Linked DNA regions of Homo sapiens: region 2 is linked to region 1. Evidence: promoter capture Hi-C in human tissues and cell types (Jung and others, 2019). All regions are on one chromosome and are shown on one strand. Each heading gives the region's core, a stretch centred on a gene start or on the middle of the fragment in contact. The rest is flanking DNA. Distances are from core to core; before and after follow the strand shown. Region 1 holds the start of OPTN (optineurin). Region 2 holds the start of DCLRE1C (DNA cross-link repair 1C).

What was found. The method cuts DNA at HindIII sites, captures the fragments that hold promoters and counts their contacts. A contact is called where the count stands out against the background at its distance.
Region 2: a contact is called between the fragment with the promoter of DCLRE1C here and the fragment with the promoter of OPTN in region 1, in 1 of the 25 tissues and cell types used here (aorta).

Annotation. Positions count from the first base shown.
Region 1 is chr10:13,094,708-13,101,515 of GRCh38, reverse strand. It overlaps OPTN (optineurin), which reads right to left and starts at 1,353. Exons shown (of 15, transcript NM_001008212.2): 1 at 1,214-1,353. It also overlaps a transcript of CCDC3 not described here. RefSeq lists an enhancer at 568-697 and silencers at 978-1,547, 2,018-2,077. The HindIII fragment of the contact is 16,289 bases long and covers 1-6,808 here.
Region 2 is chr10:14,951,843-14,958,050 of GRCh38, reverse strand. DCLRE1C (DNA cross-link repair 1C) reads left to right here and starts at 3,955. Exons shown (of 14, transcript NM_001033855.3): 1 at 3,955-4,149. The coding sequence starts at 4,041. It also overlaps a transcript of MEIG1 not described here. RefSeq lists a silencer at 3,764-3,843 and enhancers at 3,862-4,589, 4,590-5,318. The HindIII fragment of the contact is 23,477 bases long and covers 1-6,208 here.

The sequences.
Region 1 (6,808 bases), core at 104-2,603:
GGCCAGAATACTTATGCGCCTCTACCTAAGTAAGGGCGGGGGTTCGGCAGGACATAATACAGTGTCCAGTTGCCCTCGAGAATAAAGTTTGGTTTTCCGGGGGTGGGTGGGGGGGTGGGGGGGTGGAGGTTAGGTTAGTTATATTCCTAGCATAATATGCAACCTAAAGGTTAGTTTATAAAAAAAGAAGCTGTTACTTTTATTGTGTTGTACGTAATATATAAAGAACGCCTAAAATTGGCCCAGTGGAAAAACAGATGAATTATGCCAGGACTTAAATCAATGATCGTCCTCTGTCTACAGGTCACATTTAAACTTGCCTTGTCCACTCCAGGGCAATCCCTGGCCTTGGGGTCTGCCCTGGGACTTCTCCAGCCCCCGCCCCAAAACTGGGCCTGTCCTGGGAGGCAGCCTGGCACCACTAACTCTTCTCTCCCTGGGTCAAAAGAGCAAGGTGGGTTCTTCTGTTCACACAGCCTGCACCTTGCTAACCAGATCCAAAGGCTTCTGAGGTCCTCACATTGCCTTACTTTTCTATGCTTTCATTTTCCATTTCATCCTTACAAACAGTTCCTTGGTGTACATTTCCATACAACAGTTTTCCTGCTGGTGGAGGCCAGGTCGGAACCTGGGTTTCATTTTCTTTGAGCGATGTTTACTTCCTGTAGCTTATGCATTTCGATGGCAAAAACAATTCCTTTGGGGTTCTCGGCCTCATCAAATATTCTCTCTATATAGAGTGTACACACTCTCCTAGACACAGCAGTCTATGTGGATTCCCACCGACCCTGGGCACCTCATTCAGCTCGGGTAGTGGTCCCATGTCTCCCACAGGCGTGTCTGTAACCACCTCCTTATGGCGAGGAACTGGCTGCGGAATCCTTCCCAGCCTGCGGGAGGACGTCACCTCCAAGTCTCTGGGTGACTTGTAGAGGGGTTACCTGCGGCCAAGAGGCCGGCCCTGGACCCTTCTTGGGCCCACCCTGTGTTCACTACCCACCCTCTCCCACCAGGTCAGGACCCGCCGAGGCTTGGGGATCCTCCCAGGGCAGCCGTCTCGCGGGAGGGCCGCCCCACCCCTCGCCACCCTCACCCCGACAGGCTCCGGGCCGCGGGGCAGGGCGGCGGGTACCGTTTTCAGGCCGCGGAAGCGCCCGCCGGGAAGGAGCCGCCGCCCCCTCGCCCACCGCTGCAGCCCCCTGCCCTGGCTCACCTGCCGCCCGGCTTGGCTTCGCTCAGGGTCACTGTTTCCTCGGCATCGTGCCGCCTGGAGAGAACTCCCGACCGGGATGGGACGCTGACCAGGGAACCTGCCGGCGGGCGGCGGCGGTGGCGGAGGGGGCAGCCGGGACTGGGGTGCCTAGGGCTGATGCGCGGCCTGGCGACCCCGCCCAGCGCGGCTCAGCTGACAGCCAGCCGCTCCCTGCCCGCGCCGGGGAATTTCCCGGGCCCCGCCCATCCCATACCCCGCCCATCCCCCCCACCCTGCCCATTCCATACCCCACCCGACCAAGGCCCCGCCCCTCCTCTTTCCTGCGTCCGCCCCCAGCTACCCACCCTCGCTGTCCGTGCGGGGTCGAGGCTGGGACCCGGGTGAACAGGGACTGCTCTAAGGCGTCACTGTGACGGCGTTAATCAAAATAAATCATTAATCAAATGCAGTGTGCGGAGTTCGTCTTCCCCGTGTCTTCCCGCAGATCCCGTAGTGGAGGCTGGAGCCGCAGGGGGTCGCTGCCGCCCACAGAAAGAGGAGAATGCCAGGCATCCTCGGAGGGAGGCCTCCATCTGTGTTTTTTGAAAAAAGGTTAACATCTAGACATAGTTAACTGAGCATACATAGCTTTCCACTCGTTTTTGCTTTAAAATACACTCAAAAAGCAGAAAGCCTGCAGGATGCTTCTTGGGCTCTTGTTGCGGACGAATAGGCTCGGCTATTCTTGTTGCTGAAGAATAGCCTCTGCTGGTGTGGAGGAGGGAAGCTGCCCCCGGATTAGACAGCAGGATGACAAGGTAGGAGCGAGAGCCGCCCTATGTGCATCCAGAGTACCCGGGTAGCGCTGCAGGGATGGGAGGGAGGGAAGGAGGGAGGGGGAGAGAGAGAGAGAGGGAGGGACGGAGAGAGGGAGAGAGGGAGGGAGAGAGGGAGGGAGGGAGAGAGGGAGAGAAAAAAAACAAAACAACAACAACAAAACCTAATCTGAAACAGGAAAAAGGCAGATGCGCCCTCTCCTGGTATCTCCGAAGGATTCTGCTTCGCTGTCTGGACCTCCTGCTGCCTGGCCAAGCCTGACTCTCAACCCTGCCCCTGAGGCTAACCCCAAGAGCAGGGCAGAGAAGCAAGCAAGTCAGCGACTGCCCCAGACCCAATTCCGGGCCCTCGAGTTGGTGTGGTGTAGGAGGGGCAGATGAGGCTAGAGGCTGCTTTATAAGGAGTGAGCCTGGGGGTGGGAGTGGGGAGAAATAGAGAATTTAAAAAAATTCTTTTTATATCAGTGCAGGAGGGCCAGGCGCGGTGGCTCACGCCTGTAATCCCAGCACTTTGGGAGGCCAAGGCAGGCAGATCGCAAGGTCCGGAGTTCGAGACCAGCCTGGCCAATATGGTGAAAGCCTGTCTCTACTAAAAATACAAAAATTAGCCGGGCATGATGGTACTCTCCTGTAGTCCCAGCTACTCGGGAGGCTAAGGCAGAAGAATCGCTTGAACCCGGGAGGCAGAGCTTGCAGCGAGCCGAGATCATGCCACTGCACTCCAGCCTGGGTGACAGAGTGAGACTCCGTCTCAAAAAAAAAAAAAAAAAAAAAAAATCAGTGCAGGAAATAACTGATCATTCATGAAAAGGGCTTGGAAAAATATATACAGAGAGAAATGGAATGACGATCTCTAATTTTTGTTTATCTACTGGGATAATCCAGGCAGAAAAGACGGTGTCACAGCTGTACCCTGGGATCGGCAGAAAAGGGTCCCCCCGGGGCCTGTAAGGGGTGCCTGCGGTAAGTCGTACTTCACTAGGCTCCTTTTACTGTTTAAAACCCTATAGGTGGGGCACGGTGGCTCACACCTGTAATCCCAGCACTTTGGGAGGTCAAGGCAGGAGGATCGCTTGAGCCCAGGAGGGAGAGGCTGCAATGAGCTGTGATTGCAGCACTGCACTCCAGCTTGGGTGAGAGGGAGACTTTGTCTCAAGCAAAAACAAAAACGAGAACAAAACAACACTATGAAAGTGAATTAAAATGAGCATCAGTGAAACTCAGAGCCAAGAGAAGAAGGTCACCCACAAGCTGCCCATGGCTTTGGTGTGGGAGGCTCGAGGTGAGTTTCTGGTACAGAAAGCAGTCAAAGTTGTTTTCTCCTGATTCCTTGCTCTCAGTGGTGGGGTCGGGGTGGGGGGTGCCCTGAAGCACTGCACACACACATGCACACACACTCCCCCGACAACCACTTCTTAGCTGTAGGACCTTGACCAAGTTACTTCATCTTACCCTTCCTCATTCCCTTTATCTGTAAAATGGGGAGTATAGTACACTCCCAAATCCAGAAAGTTCTAAGGACCAAACCTCTTTTCTGACCAGACCCAACTGATGGAAAGCTATTTACAGTCTTTATTTAGATCCCTTGATGTGATTTTTAAATTTGTTTTGTGAAGGAAAATCGAATAGTTGATAGGAGAACTGCGTCAGACAGTGTCAGGGTGTTATGTGATATAAATCCCATTTATTGAATAGCCTTTTGAAAATCCCCAGAATTCTGGACTCTAAAGCAGAGCTTGCCCCAAAGGTTTTATTTTATTTTTTGAGGTGGAGTCTCACTCTGTTGCCCAGGCTGGAGTGCAGTGGCATAATCTCAGCTCACTGCAATCTCCACCTCCTGGGTTTGAGTGATTCTCCTGCCTCAGCCTCCCAAGTGGCTGGGATTACAGGCGTGTGCCACCACACCAAGCTAATTTTTGCATTTTTCGTATTGATGAGGTTTCGCCATGTTGACCAGCCTGGTATTGAACTCCTGACCTCGGGTGATCCACCTGCCTCGGCCTTCCAAAGTGCTGGGATTACATGTGTGAGCCACGGTGCCCAGCCACCCAAAAATTTTAGATAAGGCCTCTGGACCCACAGCCCTCACCTAAGGATGCTGAGAAGATTAAAGAGGAAATACGTCTTCAACACCTAGAAGAACGCCTGGCTCATGGTGTTTGTTGCTGTTGCTTGTGTTAGAGCCGGTTCTGTTTCTTAGCCTGGATCATCCCGTTTGGTGACTCCATCTTCCTGCACACTTCCATGGGTAGATGGAATCTAAATGCAGCGAAAAAACTGAAATAATAGCATGCTCTTAGCTGATTTGTTGATGTGGTTTTGTGGTGGGTAAATGTAGAGCAGTGTGGGAAGGTTTTTAGTGAGATCCTAATCTGGGTTTGATGTTCCTTGTGTTCCCTTTCCACCCCAATCTCCTCTGTTTGGAGTTAGCAACGAGTCCCTTTGGGCTTCCTACCTTCAGGAGCGTTGGCTGGACTCCTGGCAACAGCTCTTAGAAGTACAGCCTTTCTTCTTGTCTTTTGAGAAAGCCTGATCTCAATACATCCATGATCTACCCCAGATGTCCTGGAGGAAGAGCCAGAGCTGGGTGGGGTGGAGGCTTTCACAACAGTTGGAGGGAGGAGTGACTCCCCCGCCCCCAGATTGGGAGGAGGAGTGGGATGGTGGTCTTATGAGCATCAAGGACTCAAGCCTCAGTCCCTGCAGCACCCAGACAGACAGCAAGCTCTTGGGATGCACCTACTGGACTTTGGGAACCTCCCGCAGATTCTGCTGCCCAGGCTTGTCATTGGAAACAGCAGAGACTGTTCCCTAGAAGAACCATTTGATAATGAGGGTATCAGTGGCAATGTTGCTGGGCTGAAAAATAAATGGCCCTTACTTCAATGGGTACCAAAAGCCCTCCTGGAGTTTTGCATGGCCGTAGGGAAGGAGACCTCCCCTCTCCAGACCCCAGTGGTGCCCGAAAATAGGTTTCCGTACACCCCTGCAGAACTGGGTTTAAAGAAAGTAAAGAGGCCCAGGGCGGTGGCTCACGCCTGTAATCCCAGCACTTTGGGAGGATCGTTTGAGGTCAGGAGTTCAAGACCAGCCTGGCTAACATGGTGAAACCCTATCTCTACTAAAAATATAAAAATTAGCCAGGCAGTAGTGGTGCGTGCCTGTAATCTCAGCTACTTGAGAGGCTGAGGCAGGAGAATTGCTTGAGCCTGGGAGTCAAAGGTTGCGCTGAGCCAAGATGGTGCCACTGCACTCCAGCCTGGGCCATGGAGTGAGACTCTGTCCAAAAAGAAAGAGAGAGAGAGAGAGAAGGAAGAAAGGTAAGAAGGAGGGAAGGAAGGAAGTAGAGAGAGAAAGGAAGGAGGGAAGGAAGGAAGGAAGGAAAAGAAAAGAAAAGATATGTAATATTTTTATGTGCATCTGAGGTGGTAGACTAATATTCGTACTTGCTACCCCAGATGCCAAAGACTACATATGCTATGACTCCATATACATTAAATGTCCAGAAAAGGAAAGTAGAAAAAGACAGAAATCAGACCAGTAGTTGCCTGAAATTGGGGGTGGCTTTGAACTGCAAAGGAACTCGAGGGGATTTTTGGGGGATGATGGAAATATACTAAATTTGAATTGTAATGATGGTTTTACAACTTTTTAAGTGTAATTGAAAGCCATGAATCATACATTTACAAATGGGGTGAATTTTATGGCATGTGGATTATACCTCAATAGAGCTGTACAAACACCACCAAAAAGAACACGACCTAATAATTATGTCCAATAAAGCAGGGGTCCCCAAACCCCGGGTGGTGAACCAGTACTGGCCTGTGGCCTCTCAGGAACTAGACCGAACAGCAGGAGGTGAGCAACGGGTGGGTGAGCATTATGGCCTAAGCTCCGCCTCTTGTCAGATCAGCAGCTGCATTAGATTTTCATAGGAGCGTGAACCCTATTGTCAACAGAACATGCAAGGGATCTAGGTTGCGTGCTTCTTATGAGACTCTAATGCCTGATGATCTGAGGTGGACCCATTTCATCCCAAAACCACCCCCCCACCCACCACCATCCATGGAAAAATTGTCTTCCATGAAACCAGTTCCTGGTGTCAAAAATGTTGGGGACTGCTGCAGCAAAGGGTGTGCCCCTGCTCCTGTGAGGCCACTGGTGTGGTCGCTGCATGAATCATCTGCCCTATGGTTGACCTTGGTCTGGACTTTGTCTCAGCTTTAGTTTGATTCAGTTCATCACTGGTTCCAAATATTCCGAGGATGAGTTCCTTGGAAAGTTAAACAGAGAGTTATGATATGACCCAGCAATTCCACTTCTAGGTGTACACTCCAAAGAAACTGAAAACAGAGACTCAAACAGGTGCGTGTCTATGCCTCTAATAGGTTGCTTTCCTTTCCCTGAAATCCAGCATGAAAGCAACTCCCTGTATGAGAAGCAAGGTGTATGGTTGAAGCCTCCATCAGAATGAGGCTCTGGGATTAGGGTCCAACCTACAGCCTCAGCCAAGTACCCAGAGTCCCAGGGACCATGGCTCTGCTTTGAGACAAGCCTGTTCACGGTGTGTGTGCTGTGCTAAGCTCCTCCTTCCTCTCCTTCCTCCCATGTTTTTTGTTTGTTTGACAGAGCATCTTGCTCTGTCACCCAGGCTGGAGTGCAGTGGCATAGTCGTGGCTCACTGCAGCCTCGAACTCCTGGGCTCAAGCAATTCTCCCACCTCAGCCTGCCAAGTAGCTGGGACTATAGGCATGCACCACCATGCCTGGCTAATTTTTGT
Region 2 (6,208 bases), core at 2,706-5,205, 1.9 Mb before region 1:
TTCTTTTTTCTGGTAATTACAACCGTTCCCAACAGCTCTCTATGCCCCCTCTGTAGTCTGTTGTCAACACAACAGTCAATGCAATCTGTTTAAAACCTAAGTCAAGGCCGGGCGCGGTGGCTCACACCTGTAATCCCAGCACTTTGGGAGGCTGAGGTGGGCAGATCACGAGGTCAGGAGTTCGAGACCAGCCTGGCCAATATGGTGAAACCCTTTCTCTACTAAAAATACAAAAGAACTAGCTGGGAGTGGTGGCGTGCACCTGTAGTCCCAGCTACTCGGGAGGCTGAGGCAGGAGAATCGCTTGAACCCAGGAGGTGGAGGTGGAGGTGGAGGTGGCAGTGAGCCGAGATTGCGTCACTGCACTCCAGCCTGGGCATAGAGGGAGACTCCGTCTCAAAGAAAACAAAACAAAAAAACCTAAGTCAAATTATGTCAGTCCTCTGCTCACAACCCTGCAATGGCTTCCCATCTTATGGAGAGTGAAAACCAGAGGCTATACATGGTGAGCAAAGCCCTGTAAGATTTGCTCACAACACCCTCCCTCCTTCCTCTGTAGCCCCGGATCATTCTGCTGCAGCCACACTGGCCTAACACTGCCTAGCACACAGTAGGTGCTAAAGGGATATATTTTGAATCAGTATATTTCATCACTGCCCTTCCGATGCTGTGGAGGCAGCATGGCACGGTGGCTAGCAGTGTGTTGTCAGAGAGCACAGTGTCTAAAAGTGTGGTGGCCTTCTTGGATTTAAATCTGAGCTCTACTTACTATCAACATGACCCTGGACAAGCTACTTAACCTCCGTATCCTCAACTGGCAAATGAGGACAGAAAGTGTACCTATCTGATGGGCAGGTAGGATGTGAGGATGAAATAATGAGTATAAAACACTGATAACATCTGGAACTACATAAATGGTAGACAGTAATTACTTGCATTAGAAGGTACACTCCCACGTCCACAGGGATTTTTGTCTGCTTTTTTAGTTTTATTTTTTTGAGACAGGGTCTCTTTTGTCGTCTAGACTGGAGTGCAGTGGTGCCATCTTGGCTCACTGCAATCTCTGCCTCCAGGTTCAAGTGATTCTTGTGCCTCAGCTCCCAAGTAGTTGTTATTGTAGGTGTACCACCACACCCGGCTAATTCTTTTTGCATCTTTAGTAGAGCTGGGGTTTTGTCATGTTGGTCTTTAACTCCTGGCCTCAAGTGATCCACCTGCCTTGGCCTCCCAAAGTGCTGAGATTACAGGCAGGAGCCACCAGGATGGGCCACATTTTTTGTCTACTTTGCTCACTACTGTATCTTTAGTGTCTAAAATAGTGTCTGATACACAGTAGATGGTCAGTGAATGATTTGCTGAATGAATTAAGCTTCACCATCACATTTCCTGCAGTATTGCAGCAGCTTCCTACCTGAATTCCTGCCCCAGACTTCTTGAGTGTTGTGTTTTTTTGTTTTGTTTTGCTTTCGAGATGGAGTTTCGCTCTTGTTGCCCAGGCTGGAGTGCCATGGTCCAATCTCGGCTCAGTGCAATTTCCGCATCCTGGGTACAAGCAATTCTCCTGCCTCAGCCTCCTGAGTAGCTGGGATTACAGGCCCCTGACTCCATGCCTGGCTATTTTTTTTTTTATTTTTAGTAGAGACGGGGTTTCCCCATGTTGGTCAGGCTGGTCTCGAACTCCTGACCTCGGGTGATCCACCTGCGTCGGCCTCCCAAAGTGTTGGGATTATAGGCATGAGCCACCACACTGGCCCTGAATGTTCTTTAGACTCGAATCCAGTGGTTCTCAAACTTTAGGGTCCATCAGAATCACCTAGAAGGTGTGTTAAGCTGCAAACTGCCAGGCCCCACTCTCCCAGAGTTTCTGATTCACTAGGTTTGGTCTGGGCTATGCTTACCTATCTTGCCTATTTTCTATCCTGTCTTTCTCTTTGTCCTGACTCTATTTCCCTTTGTTTGTACTGTATCCATTGTGGAAAGAGGAGGAGATAAATAAGTGAGCAAATACATAAGATCACGAGCATTAACTTGACCTGCCTTTCCTGGAGCTCTACCGTGAGATTCTTCGGACACTAGACTCACAGCAGAATTTGTTGTTAGGTCTCCATAACCCTGCCAGGGCAGTTGTTCCCATGTGTTCTAAGACAAACCATCAAAGGTGTTGCCAGTAGTATACTAGCAGGATATTTTACCTCAATTAGTGATTATGTTGTGTATACCTTTCCATGTCACCCCTCCTCCCCCTCCTCAAGATTTCATGGAAATCTGTATTTGAATAGAACTCTGAGTATCATGGCTACAGGCACAAGCTGACATTCACTAGGGATGTCATTCTGTTTTGTTTTGTTTTTTTGAGACAGAGTCTCTCTCTGTTGCCCAGGCTGGAGTGAACTGGCATGATCTAGGCTCACTGCAACCTCCGCCTCCCAGGTTCAAGTGATTCTCCTGCCTCGGCCTCCCGAGTAGCTGGAGATGTGTGCCACCATGCCCGGCCGATTTTTGTATTTTTAGTAGAGATGGGGTTTCACCATGTTGTCCAGGCTGGTCCTGAACTCCTGACCTCAGGTGATCACCTGCCTCAGCCCTCCAAAGTGCTGGGATTACAGGCATGAGCCACTGAGGTGGGCTGGGATGGCATTCTGATTCCTGATTTCCCTGGTCAGAAATCTTTGTTCCTGGATTTGTTCTCACGTTACCTTGCGTCTCTGTGGAAGCATTTATTTGCCATATTCTGCAAACATGTTGTCGCCAGATAGATTGAATGCTACCCGAAGGTTTGTCACAGTGCTGTGCACAAAGTGGGACTTCAAGTGTTATGGAGGCCTGGAAAGCCAGGTACAATGGCTCACCCAGCACTTTGGGAGGCCGAGGCGAGCGGATCGCATGAGGCCAGGAGCTCGAGACCAGCCTGGTCAACGTGGTGAAACCCCGTCTCTGCTAAAAATATAAAAATGAGCCAGGCGTGGCGGCGCGTGCCTGTAGTCCCAGCTACTCTGGAGGCTGAGGCAGGAGAATCGCCTGAACCCGGGAGGCGGAGGTTGCAGAGAGCCGAAATCACGCCACTGCACTCCAGCCTGGGCGATAGAACTAGACCCCAACTGAATAAATAAATAAAATAAAGCGAAAGTGTTCTGGGTTGTTTGTGTTTAATTATACTAAGGAGATTTGATAGGAAGGAGCACAATAAATGTCATGGTGATTATTTGGTTTATTGTAATACAATAAAGGAAATACAATAAAAGGTTTAACAAACCTTTTCATAAAGTTGCTTTGGTTGTTAAAAAATTTTAGACCTTTCCTGCCATTTTTCTTTTTTTAAGTACATCATTCTAACTTCCTAAAAGTATAGCTCAAAAAGGTGGGGGCCCAGGGGAGAGGCCAGCAGCGAAGGCATTATTGGGATCTTATTTGCCCCAAGATCACGCAGAGATGATTTATTCAGTTTGTAGATTATATAAACGGAAGAGGGAATTAATAGTTCCTGAATCTACCATGAGTCAGATACAAACTTTCTCATACAACCCTCACGGTAATCCCACAAGGTTAGAAATTGGGAACAGAAGAGAGAGGGCGGGGAACTGAGCTCGGGTTTCAGGCTAGCAGCAGACAAGCAGGAAGCGGAACGAAGAATGATTTCTAAGCGCAGTTCCGCAGCCCACTCACCTCGTCGGCTGGGGCCACCTGCTCTGGGAGTTTCGATTTCCCTTCCCGCGACTGCACCTCCACAGACATGGGCAACGCCTTACCAGAGCAACACCTGTGTTTGTTGGGCGGGAATGAGCCTTGCACTGGGCAGGGCTCAGGGCCCATCGCGTGCAGCGAAGCGCGGGTGATTTAAACCCAAGCAGCGGGCGCCTAGAACCCGACCGGATGCTCCTTGACTTTGCCCCCGGTCTCCGGACTCCTCTGATTGGACGTGGCTGCGTTCGGCCGCCCAATGGCGAGGCAGCGCGCGGCTTCCCGGAAGTGGCGGCGCGGTCAGGGCTGGCCTTGGCTTCAGCTGCGGTTTTGGGGTCCCGGACTCTGGGATCGGCGGCGCTATGAGTTCTTTCGAGGGGCAGATGGCCGAGTATCCAACTATCTCCATAGACCGCTTCGATAGGGAGAACCTGAGGGCCCGCGCCTACTTCCTGTCCCACTGCCACAAAGGTGAGTGAGGGCTGCGCGTCGCCCGCTCCCGGGGCGCTGGGGGCTGGAGAGAGGACAGGAGGGGGCCGGCCCTGGAGCAAGGAGCTGCAGCCTGTGGGAAGCCAGCGAGGGGGCGGCCAGCACACGCCTTGTCCCAGTCGGGCTCTTCAGCCTCTCAAAGGCTTCATCTATTTTCGGATGTGGTCAACGCGGCGTAACGGCGCCTGCCAGTTGCGCCCCGGGCCGGCTTGGTCAAGCACTGCTAGTAGTTTCTCTTGGTAGCTTTGCTGGTGGCCGATGATCAGAGATTGGCGAGGGTTAGTACTTCCCTCAGAGCCTCGCTACCATGTATGAAGAAAACAAGTTTCAGATCCATTTGACCACACCCTCAAACATTGGTCAGCAAGCAGGAGACTCAGACACACACACAACTGTGGAACAGCCCGCCTAAGAGCTCCACGAAGTGCAAGCTCCTTGGCCTTTGGGTGTTCTGTCCGTATCCAATATGAAAGTTTCGTTCTAGTTTAGGTTGGAGGGATGTTTCCCTTCTAGATGGTATCAGGCAACCTGAAAAGCTACTATGATTTCACAGCTGGATCCTTTCACAGCTGGGCCGATTTAGGGATTAAGGTTAGAGTGTCGCTGATGCTCCAAGCAGAGATTGGAGCTAAGTTCCAGAGTTTAAATACCGCTAACTTGACAACCATTGTTCATTTTCACTTCTATTGTGCTAACAAGTCACTAACTTTTACCAGGGAAAACAGTTTTAATGCTCATTGTGCTAATTCGCCCAGCCATTAGTGTTAATTGGAGAAAATGATAAACGGAATCACTGGAGTTGCTGCCTCCTGCTGTGTGGCCTTGCAGCGTGCTGGAGCAGGAAGCTCCCACTACCCTGTGGAGTCAATCAGCGTAACAAACCTATCTGTACCTGCGCAGTAGGAAAGTATTTTAAAGTAAATTACAGGTATCCAAACACAGCCTTTCCTCACAGGGTTGGTGTGAAGGCCAGCTATGTTGTTTTGTGTGTGGAATCAATCACTTGGACTATAAATCGTTGAAGTTACTGCTTCTGCGAAATGTCTCTGCTTTTTTTTTCCACAAAGCCACCAGTGATTTCTCTTTAATGGGAAAATCTGGACCTCTTCTCGTGCGTTGCCGTATTCGCATCGTGCACGTCTTTGAGCATCTCCTTCTTCTTTTTCTTTTTTTTGGAGACAGGGTCTCCCTTTGTCGCCCAGGCTGGAGTACAGTGTGGCACATGCTCTCTGCTCAAGTAGTTGGGACTACAGGAGTCAGCCACCATGCCTAGCTAATGTTTGTATTTTTATTATTATTTTGAGGTGGAGTCTCCATCACCAGGCTGGAGTGCAGTGGCGTGATCTCTGTTCACTGCAACCTCCGCCTCCTGGGTTCAAGCGATTCTCGTGCCTCAGCCTCCCAAGTAGCTGGAGTTACAGGCACGCACCACCACACCCAGGTAATTTTTGTGTTTTTAGTAGAGATGATGTTTCACCATGTTGGCCAGGCTGGTCTCGAACTCCTGGCCTCAGGTAGATCCACCCACCTCAGCCTCCCAAAGTGTTAGGATTACAGGTGTGAGCCGCTGTGCCTGACACATTTCTGGTTTTGTTTTTCATTGAGAATCCACTGCTGGACGAGGATATGCCTATTTTTACTTTTTGTGTAGAGCCGCACTGGAGTCTCTGAACTCAAAATGGGCTAGCCAGGATTAAAGTATACTTCCGAAACTTGCACTTCGTGTTTAGGATGGCTGAGTTTGGAGAAATAATAAATCTAAAGGAATTTGAAATCATCATAAGTTTGTGCATTAAGCCAGAAATGGACTCTTCCCTACTGTTGAACAGTCTATAACAACTTTTTCTGTTCTCTGACCACATGTGGATCTGCTTAGTCAACCAGGACATAAACTCATCAAGGGTGAAAACACAACTTCTGCTTTTGGAGGTTTCTCACATTGCCTTCTGTTGGCTTTTCACCTTTTTGGGACACAGGCTTCTTTGATTATGATATGGACTATCTCCACAAAATTCATATGTTGAAGCCCTAACCCCCAAAG